Linked DNA regions of Homo sapiens: all the other regions are linked to region 3. Evidence: promoter capture Hi-C in 16 types of primary human blood cells and fetal thymus (Javierre and others, 2016). All regions are on one chromosome and are shown on one strand. Each heading gives the region's core, a stretch centred on a gene start or on the middle of the fragment in contact. The rest is flanking DNA. Distances are from core to core; before and after follow the strand shown. Region 1 overlaps VEGFA (vascular endothelial growth factor A). Region 2 overlaps XPO5 (exportin 5). Region 3 holds the start of AARS2 (alanyl-tRNA synthetase 2, mitochondrial).

What was found. The method cuts DNA at HindIII sites, captures the fragments that hold promoters and counts their contacts. A CHiCAGO score of 5 or more calls a contact.
Region 1: a fragment that was not itself captured here is called in contact with the fragment with the promoter of AARS2 in region 3 in 1 of 17 cell types (total B cells); the score reaches 5.1 in total B cells.
Region 2: a fragment that was not itself captured here is called in contact with the fragment with the promoter of AARS2 in region 3 in 1 of 17 cell types (total B cells); the score reaches 5.0 in total B cells.

What each region holds. Positions count from the first base shown.
Region 1 is chr6:43,775,062-43,777,921 of GRCh38, forward strand. VEGFA (vascular endothelial growth factor A) reads left to right here. Exons shown (of 8, transcript NM_003376.6): 3 at 2,408-2,604. Among named protein-coding and RNA genes, the nearest start is that of VEGFA, 6.3 kb to the left of the region's middle. The HindIII fragment of the contact is 1,590 bases long and covers 460-2,049 here.
Region 2 is chr6:43,571,644-43,574,651 of GRCh38, forward strand. XPO5 (exportin 5) reads right to left here. Exons shown (of 32, transcript NM_020750.3): 2 at 1,837-1,958; 3 at 863-935. Among named protein-coding and RNA genes, the nearest start is that of XPO5, 2.9 kb to the right of the region's middle. The HindIII fragment of the contact is 3,844 bases long and covers 1-3,008 here.
Region 3 is chr6:44,311,682-44,314,672 of GRCh38, forward strand. AARS2 (alanyl-tRNA synthetase 2, mitochondrial) reads right to left here and starts at 1,666. Exons shown (of 22, transcript NM_020745.4): 1 at 1,400-1,666; 2 at 391-582. The coding sequence starts at 1,642. LOC124901322 (a long non-coding RNA gene) reads left to right here. Exons shown (of 3, transcript XR_007059594.1): 3 at 2,470-2,866. RefSeq lists an enhancer at 1,411-1,970. The HindIII fragment of the contact is 8,838 bases long and covers 32-2,991 here.

The sequences.
Region 1 (2,860 bases), core at 5-2,504, 540 kb before region 3:
TGGCCTGTGCTCTCCACCTCTGGGGAGGGAAGGCCCTGGGGTCTTCCTTCCCGCGAGTTTCCCTGACCTAAATCTGGCGTGGCTGGGTAGTGGCCAGCAGTGGTGATGCCCAGCCTGTTCTGCCTCCTCCTTCCCCACCCCAGGAGCCCTTTCCTTGGCCTAGGACCTGGCTTCTCAGCCACTGACCGGCCCCCTGCTTCCAGTGCGCCACTTACCCCTTCCAGCTTCCCAGTGGTCTCTGGTCTGGGAGAGGCAGGACAAAGGTCTTTGTTTGCTGGAGAAAAGGTTGTCTGCGATAAATAAGGAAAACCACGAAAGCCTGGTTGTTGGAGTGTACGTGTGTGCTCCCCCAGGCAGTGGAGGCCAGCCCTCCTTGGAGGGGCGGCTGCCTGATGAAGGATGCGGGTGAGGTTCCCCGCCTCCACCTCCCATGGGACTTGGGGATTCATTCCAAGGGGAAGCTTTTTGGGGGAATTCCTACCCCAGGTCTTTTTACCCTCAGTTACCAACCCCTTGCCCAGGCCAGACCTTCCTGCTATCCCCTCCTGGGCCACAAGCCTGGCCCTCCTCTGTCCCAATTGTGATGAAGGGGCAGTTCAAAACTTCTTGATTAGTCATCTTCTCCCCTATCGACTTGGCTTTAAAAAATGACCTTTTCAGACTTCTAGTCTCGTTCACTCTTTTTGATGATGCTTTGCCGTAACCCTTCGTGGGTAGAGAAGGATTCTGTGCCCATTGGTGGTCTGGATAAAAGAAATAGAGACCTCACAGGAAGCAGTGGACTGGCCTGTTTCCCCACTGTTCTTTCTGTTTTCACACCTGTGGCCTTCTCCCCACCTTCTTCCCAATCAACCTATTGTGTACATAGCCCCCCTCATTGTCCTTTATTCTTCTGGAAAGCAGACCTTGGAGGGAGGAGTGAGGGGGAGGCTCAGCTGTGGTCTCTGGGGGGTGGGGGTTGGGAGCTGGGGTGGAAGTCCACGAAGCATACACTTAAGATGCTTTGGTGAAGTTCTAAACTTCATATTACCCAGGCTGAAAAAAGAGCACTTGTTCCTAGGGCTGGAAATGGAAGCCAAAACACCACCTTTTTCAGCCTGTTTCAGCATCTTTAGAGATCAGCCCAACCCACTTACACAGTTGAGCAGAGTTGGAGGCCTAGAGAGGGGAGGGACTGGCCCAAGGTCATACCAACTCATGGCCAGAGCCTGGGCCTCCTCACTGGCCAGGTGTTATTTCTTCCCTCTGGGTAGGGAACCTATTTCAGGGACAGGATTGCTATGTGGTAGTGGTGGTGGGGTGCGATAGGCGTGGCAGGCTGGGCCACAATTTGGAGTAGTCATGCCAGAGTCCTGCATTTATTTATTCTCAAGGGCCCCGCCTCTGTGGCCCAGAATTACCCCTTCATGCTCCAGTGCACCCCAGGCTTCGTGGCCAGCCTGGGAAACTGTCTCTACCCTGGTCTCCCTTCAGATCAGCTTCTAGAAATGTTTCGTGGCTACAGTGGCAGCACTGTTTTTTCCATGATGCAAGCAGTTTGCCCTCTTGGGCGGGGTTATCAGTGGCTGGCAGGGCTGGCACAGCGTGTCCGCCCACTGCCACCTGTGGGTTCCAGGAGGGCCCAGCCCCTGTGCTGATGCCCACCACCTTCTCAGCTCATGTCTGGGGAAGAGGACTGGCAGGGGGAAAGGTGCCTCCTCCTGAAAGGTGCCTCCTCTGTTTTTGCCTAATATAGGCTTGGGAACACTTTGATGTCAGCTAATTCTGACTCCTTTACTTACTAGCTGTGCGGCCTTGGGGCAACTTACTTAGCCTCTTTGAGCCTCCTGTTCCCCATCTGTAAAATGGAATCTCAATAGTGTCTAATAGTACCATGTGGAGAAACTTGTGTGAAATGATAGCTGTGGACTACTGTACACAGTACTCAGGATGTAGTAAGTGCTCAATAAACAGCTGTTGGTATGGTTGACGTTATGGTAGTGGTTGTGGGGAGGACGTAGGAAACTGGAGACTAGCTTGGCAAAGCTGGCTCTTCCTCCTTTTAGGGAAAGCTTAGAGCATCCCCATGGGGTATACCCATACTCAGACTGTCCTCTGGCATCGAGGTTGGCCCAGGATTCAGTTCAGCTGTCACAGTGAGGTGGCGGGATCAGATGTGGCAGGCCATGTCCCTTGGAACTTGAGTACATCGTGTGATCTCTGGAATGAAAACAGGCCTTCACCAGTGTTGATGGTGGAAAGCTTAGGGAAGTGCTTCAAACACAGTAGGAGGGACTTACGTTAGATTTTGGAAGGACTTGCCTGATTCGGAAGCTCCAAAGAGTGGCATTACAGAGCTGGGTGGAGAGAGGGGCTAGCCATCTTTTGTGTCGCCCACCGGGCTCATGTGTCATCGCCTCTCATGCAGTGGTGAAGTTCATGGATGTCTATCAGCGCAGCTACTGCCATCCAATCGAGACCCTGGTGGACATCTTCCAGGAGTACCCTGATGAGATCGAGTACATCTTCAAGCCATCCTGTGTGCCCCTGATGCGATGCGGGGGCTGCTGCAATGACGAGGGCCTGGAGTGTGTGCCCACTGAGGAGTCCAACATCACCATGCAGGTGGGCATCTTTGGGAAGTGGGGCAAGGGGGGGATAGGGAGGGGGGTAACACTTTGGGAACAGGTGGTCCCAGGTCGTTTCCTGGCTAGATTTGCCTTGTCTGGCTCCTGCCCCTGAGTTGCACAGGGGAGGTATGGTGGGGTCTTGCCTTCTGTGGAGAAGATGCTTCATTCCCAGCCCAGGTTCCCAGCAAGCCCCAACCATCTCCTTCTCCCTGATGGTTGCCCATGGGCTCAGGAGGGGACAGATGGATGCC
Region 2 (3,008 bases), core at 210-2,709, 740 kb before region 3:
AAACCAAAAACAAAATTAGCTGGGCATGGTACCACATGCCTATAATCCCAGCTACTTGGGAGGCTAAGGCGAGAAGATCACTTGAGCCCAGGAGTTCGAGGCTGCAGTGAGCTATGATCATGCTAATGCAATCCAGCCGGAGCAACAGAGACTCTGTCTCAAAAAAAAAAAAAAGTCATATTCTAATACTTGAAACAAATTCATTCTGCATACTTAAAATTCTGCATGTTTTTCATCATTAGTATCACATAGTAGTTGTTTGGAATAAAAGAAAATAGTGTTTCAATCTAATTTAGATCTAAGAATCTTATTGATTTGTTGAAAATATTTAATCCCCTCTGCCCTGTCTTTATAATTTAAAAAATAGAAGTCAATACATAAGCATGATTAATTAAACCTAGTAAGAGACATATGCTGAATTATGCTTTCTGCTTTTGTTTTGTTTTGTTTTTGAGATAGGGTCTTGCTCTGTTGCACAGGCTGGAGTGCCATGGCACCATCACAGCTCACTGCAGCCTGGACCTCCTGGGCTCAGAAAATCCTCCCACCTCAGCCTCCTGAGTAGCTGGGCCACAGGCATGCGCCACCACGCTCAGCTAATTTTTGCATTTTTGGTAGAGATGGGGTCTCACTGCATTGCCCAAGCTGCTCTCGAATTCTTAGATGCAGGTGATCCTCTTACCTTGGCTTCCCAAAGCGCTAGAATTACAGGTGTGAGTCACTGTGCCTGGCCTAAATTATGATTTCTTGTGCTGTCTGACCTATTTAGAAGCAGTGAATTTTTACACAAACTCCCTATTGAAGAAGTCACGCTTTGCCTAAACTACCTTGGAAACATGTCTCCCAACCACCCATTCCTTACATTTGCAATCAGCTCCATGACACTGTTCTTCAGATACACCTTCTCCAATCGAGACATGCCGTTCCACCGAAACCTGACCACCAAAATGCATAAAGTCAATAGAACCACTTTAGAAGTCTTGTCTTTACAAGAGAATAGCATGGATTTCTACATTTGATTACACTGGAGATTTCATTAAGAAATTATACTTTTGATTTTGTACCTGTCAATGAATGGGCAAAAATGATCTACATTTAACCAAAATACTAACACAAAAATTCTTGGGAAAAGGTTTTATATATGCAGTGGTCCATTAACTGGAATCCGCACAAGATTTGTACCACACGTCAGCTTTGCCTCATGATTTTATTGATGGGCCAAAAGTGAATATACATCTAGGTCAACTGCAACAATGTACTTGCTTTTCAGAAAATGCAGTTTTGACATCAGTCATTTTCTGTGCTGGCTTACAAAACAATTCTGGAAAAACTATGGCTAAGTCTTAAAGGCTACCTCTTCTGATAGGTGTTGAGGGTAGGACAATCAAGTTAGGATGGGTTTTCAGTTATTCTCATACAATCCTGCTTTGGATGTACCACCCAGAGAAGGCACACAAACTCAGAAAGACAGAGAGAAAAAAGAAAGCCACAGTGCCTAATCAGAGATTCATTGACCTATACATTGCATTACTCTAAAAAGGCTTCGAGGGCTAATGACATATAGTCAGAGCTCAGTAAGTATTGGCTAAATGGCAGGTAATATTTGTTGAATGGGTAATATGTACCACACACTTTACATGGATGAAGAAACTGAAGAAAAGAAAGGTTAAATCTTGAATGAGAGCTCCTGTGAGGTTCTGATAACATCTAGGGGATCATTCCTCTCTTCTTGGAGATTGCTCTTCTCTACTCACCTAAACAGCATCTCTATAGGTTATATAAGATATAAAGATCTGTTCTCTCAGACTTCAGTGGTAATGTCCAAGAGCTCCTTACTTGACAACGTGTTCCAGGATCTGAAGGCCAAAATGTCTGACGATGGCAACTTGTGTTTTCTCAGCCAACCTCAAGCCACAGGGGACACAGATAGGACACTTTTCTTTAAACTCCTCACAAAACTGAAAGAAGAAAAGTTAGTGTTTCCTTTCGAGGGCTGAGAGAATAGGGACTAAAAGAATTTCATCTTAAGAAACTCCAACCAGGGCCGGGTGCGGTGGCTCACACCTGTCCCAGCACTCTGGGAGGCTGAGATGGGTGGACTACTTGAGTCTAGGAGTCTGAGACTAGCCTAGGCAACATGGCGAAACCCCATCTCTATTAAATATATATATATATATATATTTTTTTTTTTTTTTTTTGAGACGGAGTCTCACTCTGTCGCCCAGGCTGGAATGCAATGGCATGATCTCGGCTCACTGCAACCTCTGCTTCCCAGGTTCAAGCAGTTCTCCTGCCTCAGCCTCCTGAGCCCATGTAGCTGGGACTACAAGTGCACGCCACCACACCCAGCTAATTTTTGTATTTTTAGTAGAAACAAGGTTTCATCATGTTGACCAGGCTGGTCTTGAACTCCTGACCTCAGGTGACCCACCTGCCTTGGCCTCCCAAAGTGCTGGGATTACAGGCGTGAGCCACTGTGCCCGGCCCACTAAAAATATTTTTTTAAATTAGCCGGGCATGGTGGCAGGTGCCTGTAATCCCAGCTACTCAGGAGGCTGAAGTGGTAGGAGAATCACTTGAGCTCGAGAAATCAAGGCTGAAGTGAGCCGAGATCTCACCACTGCACGCCAGCCTGGACAACCAGAGTGAGACCCTACTCAAAAAGAAACTCCAACCTAAGCTATATGTTTAAAGTTGCAAAACCTAGATCAATATTATGTGGATCTCCAAGCACAGTTGCTTTAAAAATATATATTTAATATAAAAATAAAAATATAAAATATATAAAAGTTACACATATATAACATTTCCTCCAAGTGGTGTTCACTCTATTTTATGTGTATATATTATATATATATTATGAATAAAGAACTGATAAACATTCCTTCCAGCGTGATGGTTCCAGATTTTTTCCATGCTACGGCCAACAGTAGCCCTACTAGTGTTGGAAAAAAATGGACACAAAGGAATAAGAAATTATTTGTTAGAGACATCCCCCTGACGTACAT
Region 3 (2,991 bases), core at 416-2,915:
TTACTGCCTCTGAGTGTTTTCCTGCCCAGAAAGCTTCCCCCTTCTTCTAAGTCCTATCTTCTTTCAAGTCCCAGACCAAGTCCCACTTTCACATGAAATTCTCTGCCTACTCTAGCCTAGAGTGATCTTTAACTCCAGTAAGCACCTTAGCATTGCTGTTTGACCATTTATTCAAACAACAATTTTTGAGTGATCATTAGGCAGAAAGTACAGTCTCTGCCCTTCAGGGACTTACAATCCAATCAGGGAGGTGAGGTAATTCCTGTTACACCGGCTCAACTAGCACTTTGCCTCCACATCTGGTATGAGGCCCTGCCTAAGCAGACAGTACAATGGAAACAGGACAAATTGACTCCCTTCTTGGCTGATCACTGATCCCCAGAGACTCACCTTAAAATATTCACCCCCAAAGGCCCAATTGCCAAGCATTTCAAAGAAGGTATGATGGGAAAGGTCTCGACCCACATCTTCCAGGTCGTTATGGTGTCCTCCAGCTCTCACACATTTCTGGCTGTTGGCCACACGTCGGAAGCCTGCCATCTCGCTTCGTGGATCCACGGTGCCCAGAAAGATTGGCTTGAACTGGAAGCACATAGAGTGGGGAGGGGGAGAGGGATATCCAATTTCTCAGTAGAAGGGAAATGTGGGGAGTGAGGATAGGGATGGCTGTTCAGACCGAAGGCTGACTGTGCCCCTGAGAGTGCAGTGTAATCTTGGTCTATGAGGACAAACTGGGAGCCTCGGGACAGCCATCTCTGGTGTGTGGGGAGCAGAGAAGAGGTAAACAAATCATGAACCGGAGACCCTCTGCCTAGTAAAATAGGCAAGGTAAAAGAAGGAGGAATGTGTTGGGAGCTGGAAATGGGACGCTGAAAGGTGGCATCCTCCGTCTCAGCTTCTTCAACCACACCCAATAACTTCAGGGAACAAAACTGAGACTCATTTAGTAGGGAGCCCAGACGGCCTCTAAGGTTAACTTATGCCGCCCCTATTTTACAGATGAGGACAATGAAGTCTAGAAAAGATGAGTGGTTGATAAAAACCAAAACCTTAGAGAATAGTACTCAGCAAACAATAGGTGATCAATAAACATTTAATGAAAGCGTTATCTTTATTTAAATAACGAATAAATGAAATCAGACTTCTCCCTCGGGATTCCACTCCAGCCATTTCTGGACCTAATACTCAATCCCAATCCAGAAGTTCCCAGCTCAAGCCCTCCCCAAGCCCTCCCTATACTCTGAGCGCCGTACCCCCATCACTTTACCCAACCAAGCACCGCCCTCTTTCCCCAAAAGCTACGAACTCCGCCTCTCGCTTCTTTTGCCCAATCCTGCAGCGTCTTTCTCACCAGAAAACTCACGAACTCCGCTCCCTATCAGTATGGTTCGGCCCTCACCTGGTTCATGCCCGCATTGACAAAAAGCAAACTGGGGTCGCCGCGGGGCCGCACGGAAGCGGAGGGCACCAGCCGGTGGCCATGGCGGTCCCGAAAGAAGTTCAGAAAGGCGGCCCTCACGGCCGAGGCCTTGGCTGCAGGGGGCTCCGATGAGAGCGGCCGATGGCTGAGGCCCCGCCATGCGGGCGACCTTCGAATGGCCCGCCGCAGCCTCCGGGCTGCAGCTGCCACTGACGCTGCCATCGTAGCTCCGGGCAGTGACTTTACGTGGTCAAAGAGTGACGAGGGAAGGAAGCCAGGCGTTTCCTACAGCGGCCCCTGGCGGTAGGAGGACTCAGGGGGCGGCCTCTGCCGCCGGGGTGGAAGCGATCGATTGGGTCGCTGGCAGAGTCTAGCACAGCGCCCGGCACATAGTAGGCTCTTAATTCATTCGGCATTAAGCAAATATTCATTGAGAGCCTACTATGTGCTAGGCATTGTTTTGGGCTTTTAGGGTACAAAATTGACAAAATGCCCTGCCCACTGAAATCCGTATTCTAGCAGTAATTGCTGTTGTGCTTATTAGTTTTGCAAAGTTACAGATGGGGTTGCAATAAACAGGTGTGGATTCAACTTCGTGTGTGTGTGTGTGTGTGTGTGTGTGTGTTTTGTGTGTGTTTTTCCAGGCTGAGGGAAGAAGGCAGAGAGTGACAGGGGAGTATCAGCATTCATTCAAGAGGTATTCAACAAATATTTATTGAAGACCTAGTATGTGCTAGGCACTGTTCTAGGCATTTGCCAGTTTCCTTGGACCTTGGCATCAGACACGGCCATTTTTGCCCGTGAAGCAGGAGTCTATAGGAGAACACAGAAGCCAAACAGCATCTGCTATATTATTAATTGCCTAACATTTGGTCTTCTCATTTGCCTGGGGATCAGAGAGAATCCAGGTCGTCAAGGCAGGAGGAAGCTGTTGGCTAATAGCTGCAGAGATTTCACTCTCTAAGCCTTCTAATGCCCTAAGGTTTTGTGTGTTTTCGTTTAGGATAAGAGATATACCTGTTCTACCTCTCCCTTCTGTCTTTCCATAGTAACAGCTGTGACCCTGAAGCCAACAGGCCCTTGTGGATGCAATCAGGGTGCTCATGGGGCTTCTCATGATGCCCTTGGCTTGGGAAATTAAACAGATTGGGAAGACAGAAGAGAATCTGCCAAAGCTAAAACTCAATAGAGGTTCCAGAGCTGAGGTCAGTGTAATAACCGAGAAGGCCTTAGCCATCAGGGTGGTCTCTTTTAGCCACGATTCTGTGTGTGTTAAGTTATTTGGGGTCTTTGTATACATAGTTTCTCTGCGGAATCTACATTGGACTTGAATTTCTATAGTGATAGTAAATTCTTAACTTTGTGTTCTGACAGCACCTATAACTCCTATTCCATGATCCCCTTTTTCTCCCTTTGCCCACATAGATTAAAGGTGTTGTTTTGAAAGTGTGTTTGGCCTGTTTTGGTTTTTCCAGTGTTTCTGGAACAGAAAGCTAAAGCCAGCTGGGGATTTCTGTGTGATTAATGACTTTTTTATTTTTTTGAGATGGGGTTTCACTCTTGTTGTGCTG